Regions from separate parts of the Homo sapiens genome. Here region 1 is linked to region 2. The links are contacts of gene promoters, found by promoter capture Hi-C in human tissues and cell types (Jung and others, 2019). All regions are on one chromosome and are shown on one strand. The core of a region is centred on a gene start or on the middle of the fragment in contact, and the rest is flanking DNA. Distances in the headings are between cores, read along the strand shown.

The links. Contacts are between HindIII fragments. The study calls those that stand out against the background at their distance.
Region 1: a contact is called between a fragment that was not itself captured here and the fragment with the promoter of OXR1 in region 2, in 1 of the 25 tissues and cell types used here (lymphoblastoid cells).

The regions. Positions count from the first base shown.
Region 1 is chr8:104,764,499-104,770,553 of GRCh38, reverse strand. No RefSeq gene overlaps it. Among named protein-coding and RNA genes, the nearest start is that of LRP12, 180 kb to the right of the region's middle. The HindIII fragment of the contact is 4,319 bases long and covers 2,284-6,055 here.
Region 2 is chr8:106,267,870-106,274,575 of GRCh38, reverse strand. It overlaps OXR1 (oxidation resistance 1), which reads right to left and starts at 4,386. Exons shown (of 17, transcript NM_001198533.2): 1 at 4,209-4,386. RefSeq lists silencers at 4,032-4,391, 4,412-4,661. The HindIII fragment of the contact is 5,628 bases long and covers 1,878-6,706 here.

The sequences.
Region 1 (6,055 bases), core at 3,194-5,693, 1.5 Mb after region 2:
GTAATGCAGAATGAGTCATTTGGAATGGCAGGATAGAGAGCAAGAGGGCAGCTCTAGAAGAATCCTCCAGGCTTTTAAAAACAGGGACTTTTCTTGGCCCTTGTCTCACCTTCATTCTCAAAGTGGGATGTATGTTTGCTGTATGGCCCTGTGTGTGTTAGACACACAGTAAGTACATGCTGAAAGAATGGGTGAATTTATGAGGGATCGAAAATAAAGAGCAATAAGCAATGTTTCCCCTATTCTCCACTGTCTCTGTTTCCTCTAAACTGTAGGGCAGAGCCTGATAGAATGAGGGGAAACACATAAAATCTGGAATCAGAAGATTCAATTTCTAAAGTTTGTCTTCTGCACATACCACTTTTATACATCGGACAAGTCAAAATTATCTCTAAAGTTCAGTTTATTTCTCTGTAAAAGGAGAATAACACCACCAATCCTCCTAGCTCAAAAAATACATCACTTGTGTTAGTTGAGTGCACACTACCAAGTACTTTAACCACTTACACAGAAGTAGTTCTTCTCCCATAGGGCTCTGTCAGTTCTCTTTCAAAATCCAACTCTGTGTGTGTGTGTGTGTGTGTGTGTGTGTGTGTGTGTGTGTGTCCTCTCTTCCTGTCTCCAACCCCACCCCCCATCTTCTGGGAGTTTCCAATGGTATGTGTTTGTTAACTGTAACCACAGCTAAAATCTTCCCTTTAGAGGACAAAAGCACTTCTCTTCCATTTTCCTTCCTCAATAAACCCATAATTAATAAGAGCATGATGGCACTTAGCTAGTACATTTAAAGGAACACCCATTAGCATTCATTTATTCTCAAAAATGAATTAACAAAATGATGAACAACAGGATGAGCAATGAGGATTTACTCTACTCAACTTCTCACTTCATTACACCATATAAGAATATTCAAAGTCAAACTGTCATCACAGAATGTAGTCAGGAGCTTATGAAGCTGCACTGGTTGCATTTTTGCTTAACTCTTACACTCTTTTGTATCTTTCTTTTTTTAATAGGAAGGGAGTATACTTTAATTCCTCCAAGTCACTCCAACTGGATTAGACTCTTAAAGAAAAGAGACTCAGGCTTTCTCATTTTTAGGACTTTCAGAGTCCCTAACACAATTCTCCATTCAAAATAAGCATGCAATTGCTACATATTTATAGAAAAGATGAGTGAAAAAAAGAATGAAAACTATTACTGTTTCATTATAAGTAAATCTATATTTATTCTAAAATAAATACTTAAAAGCAGAGGGATGTCTTTTATTCTGGCAAACCTCCCCGAGATTCTATAAATCTGTGCATTACATTCCCAAGCTACAAATCTTGTGGCACTCAACCATATTGTGCAATACAAGAGAAGGTCTATAATGCATATTTCTACATCTTCATTTCATAAGAATATTTAAACAAGACATGCAAATTCAAGTGCAAGCAAGATCTAAGGAAACAAACTATATTTATGGGTGGCTGTATTTATGCACATATGTAGCATGTAAGCCTCAGAGTTTTCGGTTGCAGAATGAGGATGGAGTCCTTTTGATACAGCTGGAGATAGGAGGAAGATCGCTGTGGCTCACAAGTGAGAGTGCATTAAAAACATGGACAGCCCTGGTTAATAAATGTCCTCCATAGGGCTAATGATGGATGTTGCAGATCATGTTGAAATGTTGGGCCCACCTTACTATATAGGTCTATTCTATAATGATCACTTCTCAAGGATGCCATAGTAACTACTTGCCCTGTCCTACCATTTCCCATCCCGATATGCCTGTCTGTGCATGAAACTCTAGATGGAACACCAACTTCTTTGAGTCTCACTTTGTGTGTATTCATCCACTTATTCAAAGAATATTTATTAAGAATCTACTGTGTTCCAAGGACTGTGGTAAAGATATAAGAGCAAACAAGATATGGTCCCTGCCCTCAAAAGACTTAAAACTAGCAAAAAATACTGTTACAGAAATGTCACTGAGAGGAGCATGCATTAAGCTGTTATCAATAACACCTTGTCATGTTTTCTTTCTCCATGAAAGGAATGAAACTGCCTATTAGACCCTCAAAGAACTTTCTCAGTATTATTTCACCTGCCGTTTGAGGTTTGTAACAGAAGATTGTACAATCCGGTCTTACACCAAGTAATTTAGTTCTCTTAACTTGGAATATGAAAAAGAAGACAGCATGGTGAAACACGTGCCCCTTAAAATATAAAATACCATTTTATTGTACAAAATTAATACAAATTGAATAAAGCCAAAAAACTCATATCTCAATATGAAATGATTAAGTATAAAAATAATAGAATTAGAATCCAGTGGCTATAACCCATAGCCTTTGAGTGTACTTTTGAGTCTCCTGAACACATTTATTCTTTAGGTTTGTTCATTTGGAAACTCTCGAGTTGCTCCTAATTAGTCACCAGTCTTTCCCTTGACCTTACTTTGGATGTTTAACACTTGGTACTAGTTATGCTGGGCTTTTCCATCCACTTCCTTGGCCTCCAATGGTGTTTCATGCTGATATGCTAGCAACCTGATTATTTCATTAAACTCTATCTCAAGCTATGTCTTATATGCTCTATTCCTACTCGAATCCTAGCATTTTCTGAATCTAATGCATAAACTCTTAAATCAGTGGTAATCAATTGAGGATGGTTCCTCCTCCCCCAAGGACATTTAGGACATTTGGCAATGATTGGAGACATTTCTCATTGTACAAAGGTCGGGGCAGGGGTGGGATGGGGACCAGATGTCAGAAGCGGGAATGCTACTGGCATTTAGAGGGTAGAGGCCAGGGATGTTGCTAAACATGCTACAGTGCACAGGACAGTCCCCATCAAAAAAAAAGAGTCCCAAATATCTAGAGGCTGAAGAACCTCTACTTAGAAGAGGGTCCAGAGGAGACATACAATCGTAGGAGTCCTATCAAAGCAGACCTGGGTATGTTAAAGAAAAAATGTGTCTTTTAAGACAGAAGATTTTCATGTAATAGTCCAGGCAAACTGTCACCTGTCAGAGCTTAGCTTTTACAGATTACTAAGTGGGCCTCCTTTTAATTTAAAAGTCATAACATAGTCCAAACATAACCTCACATAAAACATTTTTATGCAGATCGAACCTCGGGGTTTTCGCACTTCATTAAGAATTAGTTGACAACTAGCAGGGAACAAGATAGGAAAAGAAGCCTTTAACTGCAAAAGTGGGAAATATCAGCATGCTTGTATTTGCTTGACAGTTTTCCCTTGACTACACTGAACTTTATCTGAGCCCTGTGTTCCCTGAAAGCAGCTACAGTTAAAAGATCCCCCTGAACCCTATTGTGTCCCAAAAAAGGGCACATCACAAAGCACCATCTTGCCCTTCCATATGTTTCTCATGACTCAGATAAGATTTGCTTGCTAGGCAGGGCACAGTGGCTCACGCCTGTCCCAGCACTTAGGGAGGCCAAGGCAGGAGGATTGCTTGAGCCCAAGAGTTCGAGACTAGCCTGGGCAACATAACGAGACACACACACACACACACACACACACACACACACACACACACACTTTATATTTACGAAGACTCACTTTCTGTCCACCTTTCCTTGGGACTCCTTGTTTATTTACCTCAGTAGAAAAGGTTTTCTCTTTCTTTGAGATGGTTCTGATTAATGAACATTTTCTCTAATGTTGAATAAAGCCTGAATAAAATTAACTGCTTAATAGTTTTTTACATCCTATCTTTTTTTTCCACTATATTTTAGGAAGCCAGACCTTTGGACTGCTCAGGGGAAGACTAATATCACCAAATCTCCTCCAGAAAATGCAAACCTCTGAGAAAAAGAAAGGAGTTAGATTTCACTTTCCCATCAGCCTTCCTTAAAAAATATATATATACATATATATATATATTTCAATTTATTTATTTATTTATTTAACTTTTATCTTAGGTCCAAGGATACACGTGCAGATTTGCTACATGGGTAAATTGCATGTCACAGGGATTTGGTGTACAGATCATTTTATCGCCCAGGTTAAGAAACATTGTACCCGATAGGTAGTTTTTCAATCCTTACCCTCCTTTCACCCTCTACCCTCCAGTAGACCCTGATGTCTGTTATTCCCTTCTTTTTGTCCATATGTACTCAATATTTAGCTCCCACTTATAAGAGAGGACATTCAATATTTGGTTTTCTGTTCCTGTGTTATTTTGTTTAGGATAATGGCCACCAGTGCCATCCATGTTGTTCCAAAGGGCATGAACTCATTCCTTTTTTGATGTTTGCTTAGTATTTTATGATGCACTTGTACCACATTTTCTTCATCCAGTCTACCATTGATGGGCACTTAGGTTGATTCCATGTCTTTGCTATTGTGAATAGTGCTGCAATGAATATACAGGGTGCATGTGTCTTTATGGCAGAATGATTTATATTTCTTTGGGTATATACCCAATAATGGGACTGCTGGGTCAAATGGTAATTTGGCTTTAAGTTCTTTGAGAAATTACCAAACTGCTTTCCACAATGGCTGAACTAATTTACACTCCCACCAGCAGTGTATGTGTTCCCTTTTCTCTATAACCTCACCAGGATCTGTTATTTTTTAACTTTTTAGTAATAGCGACTCTCGCTGGTATGAGATGGTATCTCTTCGTGGTTTTGATTTGCATTTCTCTAATGATCAGTGATGCTGAGCTATTTTTTTTTTTTTTTTTTTTTTTGAGACGGAGTCTCGCTCTTTCGCCCAGGCCCCGGAGTGCAGTGGCGCTATCTCGGCTCACTGCAAGCTCCGCCTCCCGGGTTCACGCCATTCTCCTGCCTCAGCCTCCTGAGTAGCTGGGATTACAGGCGCCTGCCAGCGTGCCTGGCTAATTTTTTGTATTTTTAGTAGACAGGGTTTCACCATGTTAGCCAAGATGGTCTTGATCTCCTGACCACGTGATCCGCCCGCCTAGGCCTCCCAAAGTGCTGGGATTATAGGTGTGAGCCACCGCGCCCGGCCGATGCTGAGCTATTTTTCATGATTGTTGGCCACATGTATATCTTCTTTTGCAAAGTGTTTGTTGATGTCTTTTGCCCAGTTTTTAATGGTTTTTTTTTTTTTGCTTATATATTTAAGCTCCTTATAGATTCTTGATATTAGACCTTTGTCAAATGCATAGTTTGCAAGTATTTTCTCCCATTCTGTGGGTTGTCTGTTTACTCTATTGATAGTTTCTTTGGCTGTGCAGATGCTCTTTAGTTTAATTCGGTCCTATTTGTCAATTTTTGTTTTTGTTACAATAGCTTTTGGTGTCTTCATCATGAAATCTCTGCCAAGTTCTATGTCCAAAATAGTATTTCCTAGGTTGTCTTCCAGGATTGTCATCGTTTCAGATTTTACATTCAAGTCTTTAATCCACCTTAAGTTGATTTTTGCATATGGTATAAGGAAGGGGTCCAGTTTCTATCTTCTGCATATGGCTAATGAGTTATCCTAGCACCATTTATTGAATAGGCAGTCCTTTCCCCGTTGCTTGTTTTGTTGATTTTGTCAAGATCAGATTGTATGTGTGCAGCATTTTTTTTCCAGCCTATCAGCCCTCCTTGATGATGATCTGACAATTACCAGCTGCAGAGGTGTTAGTAAAAAGAGTCCCGCCCAAGTCCAGATGTTGGGGCTCTTTCTTCCATTTGTTAAGGTTAAGAATCTTAACTACTTGCTAGGTTAAGAACATCCCACCTCCTCCCTTTCTGGAAGGACTAACGAGCAGGGCAGTCAGAATAGGAACCCCATGGGACAATTCACAGATGAGATGAAGTGCTGGATGGACCACCCTCCTCCCTGAGCTATGAGGGTCTCTGCTGGCTGGTAGGATGCATGGTAGGGAATGGGTCAGCTCCCAGTGGTTCCTTGGCATTTTCCATCTTCCAAGCCTTTCATGCCCTTCCTCAAAATAGCCCCCGGGTCATTCTCCAGGTGGCCTTTACACTTTAACTCTCTCCTTTAATTCTCTTTCTAAGCTTCATTGCTGCATAAACACTAAGCCCTGCCTGCGCTGGCACTCTCCCTTTTGATTCTCAAGAGCATA
Region 2 (6,706 bases), core at 3,137-5,636:
TTAGCAGGAGTATCAAGTCTGCTGCGACACAAATCCCTGAGGGACAGTAATAGGTAAGGGTGATTGGAATAGTTATTAGAACAAGAAAGGAAGTAAGCAACCCTAATGATGATACCTTCAGAATGAATTCTGAAACAAACCAATAACAAAAATGGGTGGAATGGTGAGACAGAAGAGGGGGTAGATACAACGACCAAATTTTAGTTTCACTAGGCTTCATTGTGCTAATGACAAGGCTTTTACCTAATAAGTGCTCTGAGCTCCTGCATGCAGGGGATATTAGAACAGTATCTTATTACATTTATGAGTGTAAGGTATTGTTCCTCCTTTCTAGGCAACGTATTGTGCTACGGAATCGAAAGGCTTGATGCTTCTCAATACGCTCCATGCTGTCGATTTCAAATGGAAATTAAATACAATACGAGAAAATTATACGACATTCTTACCTTTCTATGTAGATACCTATAAATACTAAGATTTCATTTTGGAATATTTTGGGGTGTTTCAAATAAATATTTGTCTAACATTTTTCTCTGATTGTTCAATCCCTCACTTGATAAAGAACTTACAAGTTGTAATTTTAATTAAATTCATTTGAATTAAAAATTAAGATTATCGCTTTTAAAAAGCAATTACCAAACAAGTTCAGTGAAATTAGTACAGCAGAATAGTTCTGATTTGGTTTTATCAAACAATGTTTACTTAGCTCACATGCACATATGCATATGATTCACCTTTTAGAAATTCTCAATATGTCTTAAGATTTTTTGTTTGTTTGTTTTTTAAAGGCTGAAAAACAGTTCTGCCAAAAGGAAGCCTCTTTAATTTCCTTAAAACAAGTGTTTTTGAATATGGACCATTTTGCAAAGAAAGTCTCTTATTAACTACTCTTGATTTTCAAGATGGACTTCCAATAGGAATATTTGAAAGTATCCTAAAAGGGGTTGCTTTTAATGTTAAGCACATCTTATTGAAAGCCAAGTTTCTCAAATTAAGCATTACTGACATTTGGGCTGGATAATTGCAGAAGGCTGTCCAGTTTATTGTAGAATGTTCACAGCATCCCTGGCCTGGCCCACAAGACACCAGCAGCACCTCTCCCCCAAAGTTGTGACAACCAAAAATGTCTCCAGACATTGTCAGTATCCCCTAGGGGGTAAAACTGCCCCCAGTGGAGAATCACTGCTCTAAGCCTATCAACAAGATCTATCCCTAAAGTGAGAGAAAGTGATTTCTCTTCTTCCACTTTGACTGACATCTCTATTTCTCATTCTGCCTCCTCAAGCCATTTCACCACCTTTACTTTCTTCTTCTTCTTCTTTTTTTTTTTTCTTTGTAATGACTTTATCTTAGGGCAACAAAAATTCCATTGACTATTTTCTAAAGCTTCCCAGGATTTAGGGAACAATCCTCCAGAAAAAAAGTGTCCAGTTAGGCTTCCACTTAAGGACCAGGAACCAGCCCAAGGGTACAATCCTTTGTATTTCAAATGCAGGAGATCGGGAGTAAAAGATTCTCTCATCTCACATTAAATTTAGCATTCTATAATGAAGCCTTTTCCTGCACACACTCAAAAGATCTACCCGGACCTAATCTCTGCTTTTATATGATACCCTAATCAATTTGGCCGACTTTCCCTCTTCCGTGACCCCCAAACAAAACAATACAGGCAAACATATCAGATGATGTTTTATTTGAACAGCATTCTGTGCAGAACAGAATGGCTAAAATGATCATTTATTTTACCTTCACATGATTTATAATAATGACTGAAAAAAATCATAGCCATAAAAGCCAATAATGACAGCAGAAGTCTTTTTATTCAAATCTCCCACCTTACAGATGTCCAGAATAATCAACATATTTCAAAGGGTATATTTCAAAAACGTACTAGCAACTCAGCCAGCCACTGTCACATGGAATAAGAAGACATGCCCTGGCCATTAGAACCATGCTGTCCTCGCTCTTGTGTCCCTCCACGGGACAGACATCACCTTGCAAGACAACTCGTGCCACTGTCCCCAACAGTTTTCCACAGAGTTCTTGTTTCCCTTCATCTGAATCTTCTCTGTGCAATTTGATGTCCTGAACTATTTCTGACGGTTGCACACAAGATCTCAGGGACTGGACCTTTTAGTTATGAGACCAGCCCTCTTAGACAGCAGACAGTAGGTACAGTGCTTGCTCTCCCTTCTTTGCATCCTTCCAGAGTTGCCTTCATCCTCATTTCCTGCATCTGGTAAAGTCTCTCTGAAAATGTGAAACCGACGACAGAACATGGCAAGCTGGATGGAGAAGCCGACAACCCCTCCCCCACTCTCACCCAACGCCGGGCCGGTCCTGTTTCGGATCCTGCACACTGTGGAAGCTTCTTGCTTCCTTGTTTTGGTGGGTGAAATCTTTGCTGTTCAAAAAGGTGTTTTTGCACAGAAATTTTAGGACGTGTTTATTCTAGTAACGTAGTGTTTTCTTTTTTCGCTATATTTACATGTGGAGAACTCCAGGGAGGCCCCCACCAGAGATCCCTTAAATGCTGGTCTCTGTCCCTGCTTCTCGGCCCCGCTGGCCTTTTGGAGCCATCGTGCTTCCCAGTCCGCAGGCAACAATCACAGCATCACCTGCAAGGGGCAGCAAAGTGAACCGCGGACCCCTGGAGTGACGCCTTGGAGATGGACCCTTTGGATTTGGGAACCCCTCTGACGGCCGGGACTCCCAGGATTCCCTTCCATAGAGGGAGTCCACGGTGGTCGCAGCCGGCGGCTGAGTCCTCCTTAGAGTGCCGAATCAGAGAAGACCCGCATCAGGTTTGGGATGTAAGTGGAGAGGGAGAGGTTAGAAAGAGGCATCATTGGATAAGCAAAGAATGCTACCCTGGGAAAAGGAGGCAGAAAAGACGTAGGGAAGTATGTTCCCCTTAATCCCTTCCCCGTGCCGCCCGTAGATCCCTGGATCTTCTTGTCACGGAGACAGGCTGCAGCCACACACGCGACCCCGGGCCGGAAACATGCACACGCGCGCGCACACACGCACACACACGCCCCGCTGCGAGTTGCACGCTGCAGACTTCTGCCTGACTTCCCGGCCAAAAACACCGCACCTCTGGGGCCAGACCACGAATTCCTGTGGCCTAGAACTGACACCACTCCCCCTACCCCCGCAATACACACATTCAGACCCTACACTGCACCCTGAGCGTGCCGGGAACCACTGAACGGAAGCCCGAGCAGCTCCCCCCGTAAACGACTACCTTCCCCACTGCCTAATGTCTATTTAAATCTCCTAAAGCTCGCCTACAGCGAGCCGAGGTGCGTCCAAGCCGGGTAGTAGACGGAGGAGGAGCCAGGGGTGAAAGTGAACCTCAGATAACAGTACTAAATCACTATTCAAGGGGCGGCACGGGGAAGCCTCCAACCCTCTCCTGAACCTTTCAGGCCCTACCAGCAGCCCAGTTCCTCCGCCCGATACTGCACAGCTCCCCCCCTCTTCACCCAAATCCCTCAGCGATTTTCCAGTCGGCCCTCCAGGCCACTTTCTACATCCATCCTTTCCCCAGCCAGTTCCCAACATGTGGCCTCGGGTACTCTAGCGGGAGACAGATTCCAGGCTGACTCCATCATGATGTGCCCCCTAGCCTTTTACTGATTCCCCAAATTATCCGAATCCACTCGCCCCTCCGGAGCCCACTGTCCCTTCCACCGGCGTCCTTTGCTCTCGTCCAAATCCGCTTTCCACGCGCCCCACTTTCCACCCATCCTCCTGCCGTTCTGTTCAAGACACGCTTGCCCTCCACTCTGCGCCCCCAACACTGCTCTCACGCTGCTCCCACTCTATCCCCCGGCGACACCCCCACTTTCCTTCTGCGGCTGTCCCTGGCCGGGCTCCCGCGCCCCAAACCCAGCCTCCCCGCCCGGTCTCCTCCCTCGCCGCCCGGTCTCCTCCCTCGCCGCGCGGTCTTTCCTTCTTCCCAAGTCCGCCCTCTGGGCCCCCGCTGGAGCTAGTTCTGCCCTCCTGCTCTGCCCGTCGTCCCCGCTCGAGCATCCCAATGGCCACCCGCTTTCAAATTGGCTAAGTGGCTCGGAGAGGCGCCAGGCACAGGGGGCAGAGGCCAGCCGGCTCTCCCGGGCGCCAGCCGCGCCTCTCGCTATCCCTCCTGGACTCCCCCGGGCGCCAAGCCCTCGCCCTAACGCCCAGCAGCCTCACAAACTTACTTGCGGGTCGCCAGGAGGGGGCTGCGGTGAGCGGCGGCGGGCCCCGCGGCGGCGAGTGCGCCCCTCTCGGCGGGGCTGGGCGGCGCGGCGCCGGCGCTGAGCTCCTGTGGCCGCGAGGTGAATGGGCTCAGCCTGACGCAGCCCAGCTCTAGCCCCGCTGCTGCCGGCGCCGCTGAGCGCTTGCAGACATGCTCAGTTTCCGGACCTGCCCGCGTGGAAGCTACCAAGAGCCGGCAGCGGCGGGGGAGACTGAGAGGAGCCGTGGGGCGCCGCGAGCCGGAGGCTACCACGCCGGGGGCGGGGGGAGGCACGCACCGCTAAAAATAGCTCCTGCGGAAGCCACGCTGGCTTAGCGCGCACCCCTCCCCGCGCGCGGCCCCTCTGGCTGGGGTTCGGGTTTCTGCTCTGGCTACCGCGGTGGGGACCCCAGCTCGCCGAGTCCTGCCAGGCGTCTGCCTGCACTAGGATCCCCATCCCGGTGGAGACGGCGCCTCCAGTTCAGGCGCCCACTCGAATAGCCTGGACTAAGCCAGAGCTGCCCCGATTTCGGGGTCCCGCCTGTCGGGCAGCTCTAATACTAGGCTCTCCCTAGAGAAGCAGAGGAAAGTTTTGTTAAAGCGATAAAAAAGCTTCTGCAAGGAAAGCTGCAAGGAAATTTGTTCAGATTTACGGAGGAAAAAAATGTTCTTCAGATGCTTTGGTTGCTGGGAAAAACAAGGAGGAAAGGAAGGCGAAGTCTGACAGCCTAGAAAGGGACCCAAGGCAGCTTGGAGCGGGCTGAAGGGGGTTCTGCAAAGAGCTTCTAAAATTCAGAATTCTTTGCAAGGCGTTTGTGACTCCTCATTCCGCAGTGTTTTGCATAATTCGTTGACACCCCACCCTGACCTTGGAGATTTTCTTGTTCCTGTCACCTGAACTGTAATTTACTTTCTCCGCATGCTGCCTTCACTCCTTCCCCCTCCAACCCGGTTTTAAATTGCAAAACGAAAAGGGCGCAAACTCTGGATGGGTAGATTCCCAGACCTGAACTGGAACCTGGCTGTTCTGTAACCCTGAGGAAAGGAGCTGGTCCTGTTGCCGAGTTCGGGATGTATCCCAGATCTCCTGTGCATCCAGCAAACACTTCAAGCGTAGGAGCCTTTCAGCCACCTCACCTGCAAATTAGCTATTTCCCGCTATTAGTGTTCACTCTATTCTACCTTAATTTCTGATCATTTATTATTATTTTTTAATTCTGTTCTTTAAAGTAAGAGGTACAGATATTTCCTGGGTCAAATTTCCGTCTTGTTTCACTCACCTCTCACAGCCACCCAATGAGAGAATCATTATTATTCCCATTTGACAGACAGGGATGTTGAAATTTAGCGACAGGAGCTCATCGCTTGTCTGGAATAATAGAGTGTTGAACCTAGGGTCGGCCAGACTAGAAACTTTCATGGTTTCCGCATAACCTATTTCCCCGAGTCAATAGCTTTACCTGAGATAAGGGATCAAGAAAATTAGATACTATTCTGAGTGGCGTGGCGTGTCAACAGTAAGCCGATTGATAAGCCGATTGCGGGTTTTGTTCTCCATTATTTTTACCTAATTTCTTTACGAGCATTCGCAGCTTAAATTTTCTGTTATGTTGAAACTGATAGCGTTTAATTTTTATTCTATCAGAAAGATTTTACTGAGAATCTTCTACAAGCAATGTATAGACTAGGTATGTATTTTATAATTATCTCAGTTCAGACTCTGTGATAAAGCTACTTTGTTTTCCCAGTATTATAAATTAGTTAGACTTTGCTAACCCTACTAAGTAATGTACATGTGATTTTTTCATAGAACTGTAGTGGAATCTGTCTATTTGGGTCAAGATGTCCTCCCTCCTAAGATATTTGCGCCCTTCCATCCCCACTTGCAATTTAGTGCCATGTGCACCCCAAAATAAGTAATCAATTAAGGTTTGATCTTTTACTTTTTTACTGAAGCTGCAAATATTATCTGCAGGACCAGGGCCACTTTATAATGACAACATCATGTTTCTAATTTTCCATAGGTGATTCATTGGGAGATCAAAATGTGAATTTCCTTAGACTATCAACACAAATCATTCCTTTCTATCAGTGGTGAAGGAAGGTGAAAAATAAACTTTACTTTCATCCTGGTTGCTTTCATTCTTCCTCTTTCAGTAATTATTCTTAAGGTGGTATGGCACTCTGAACATCTTCATGCTACAGCATGCACACTACCCATAATCATGAAACAGGGAAAATCTTGATTTCAAAGTCTCTTTGGTGTCCTATGGAAAAGTGTAGCTCAAAAACGTACTGCATTGAGGACTCGAAGTAACAAGTGACAGGGATGCAATTCTAACTTAGGCAGAGAAAATGCATTGACCCGTGTAACTCAGAAGTACTAGAAATAGCAGGGCTTGTCCTGGGCTTAACAACATTAGGAAGAATATGATTTTCTCTTTCTCTAACTTGCTTTCGGCATTGCTTCCTGTGTTGGTT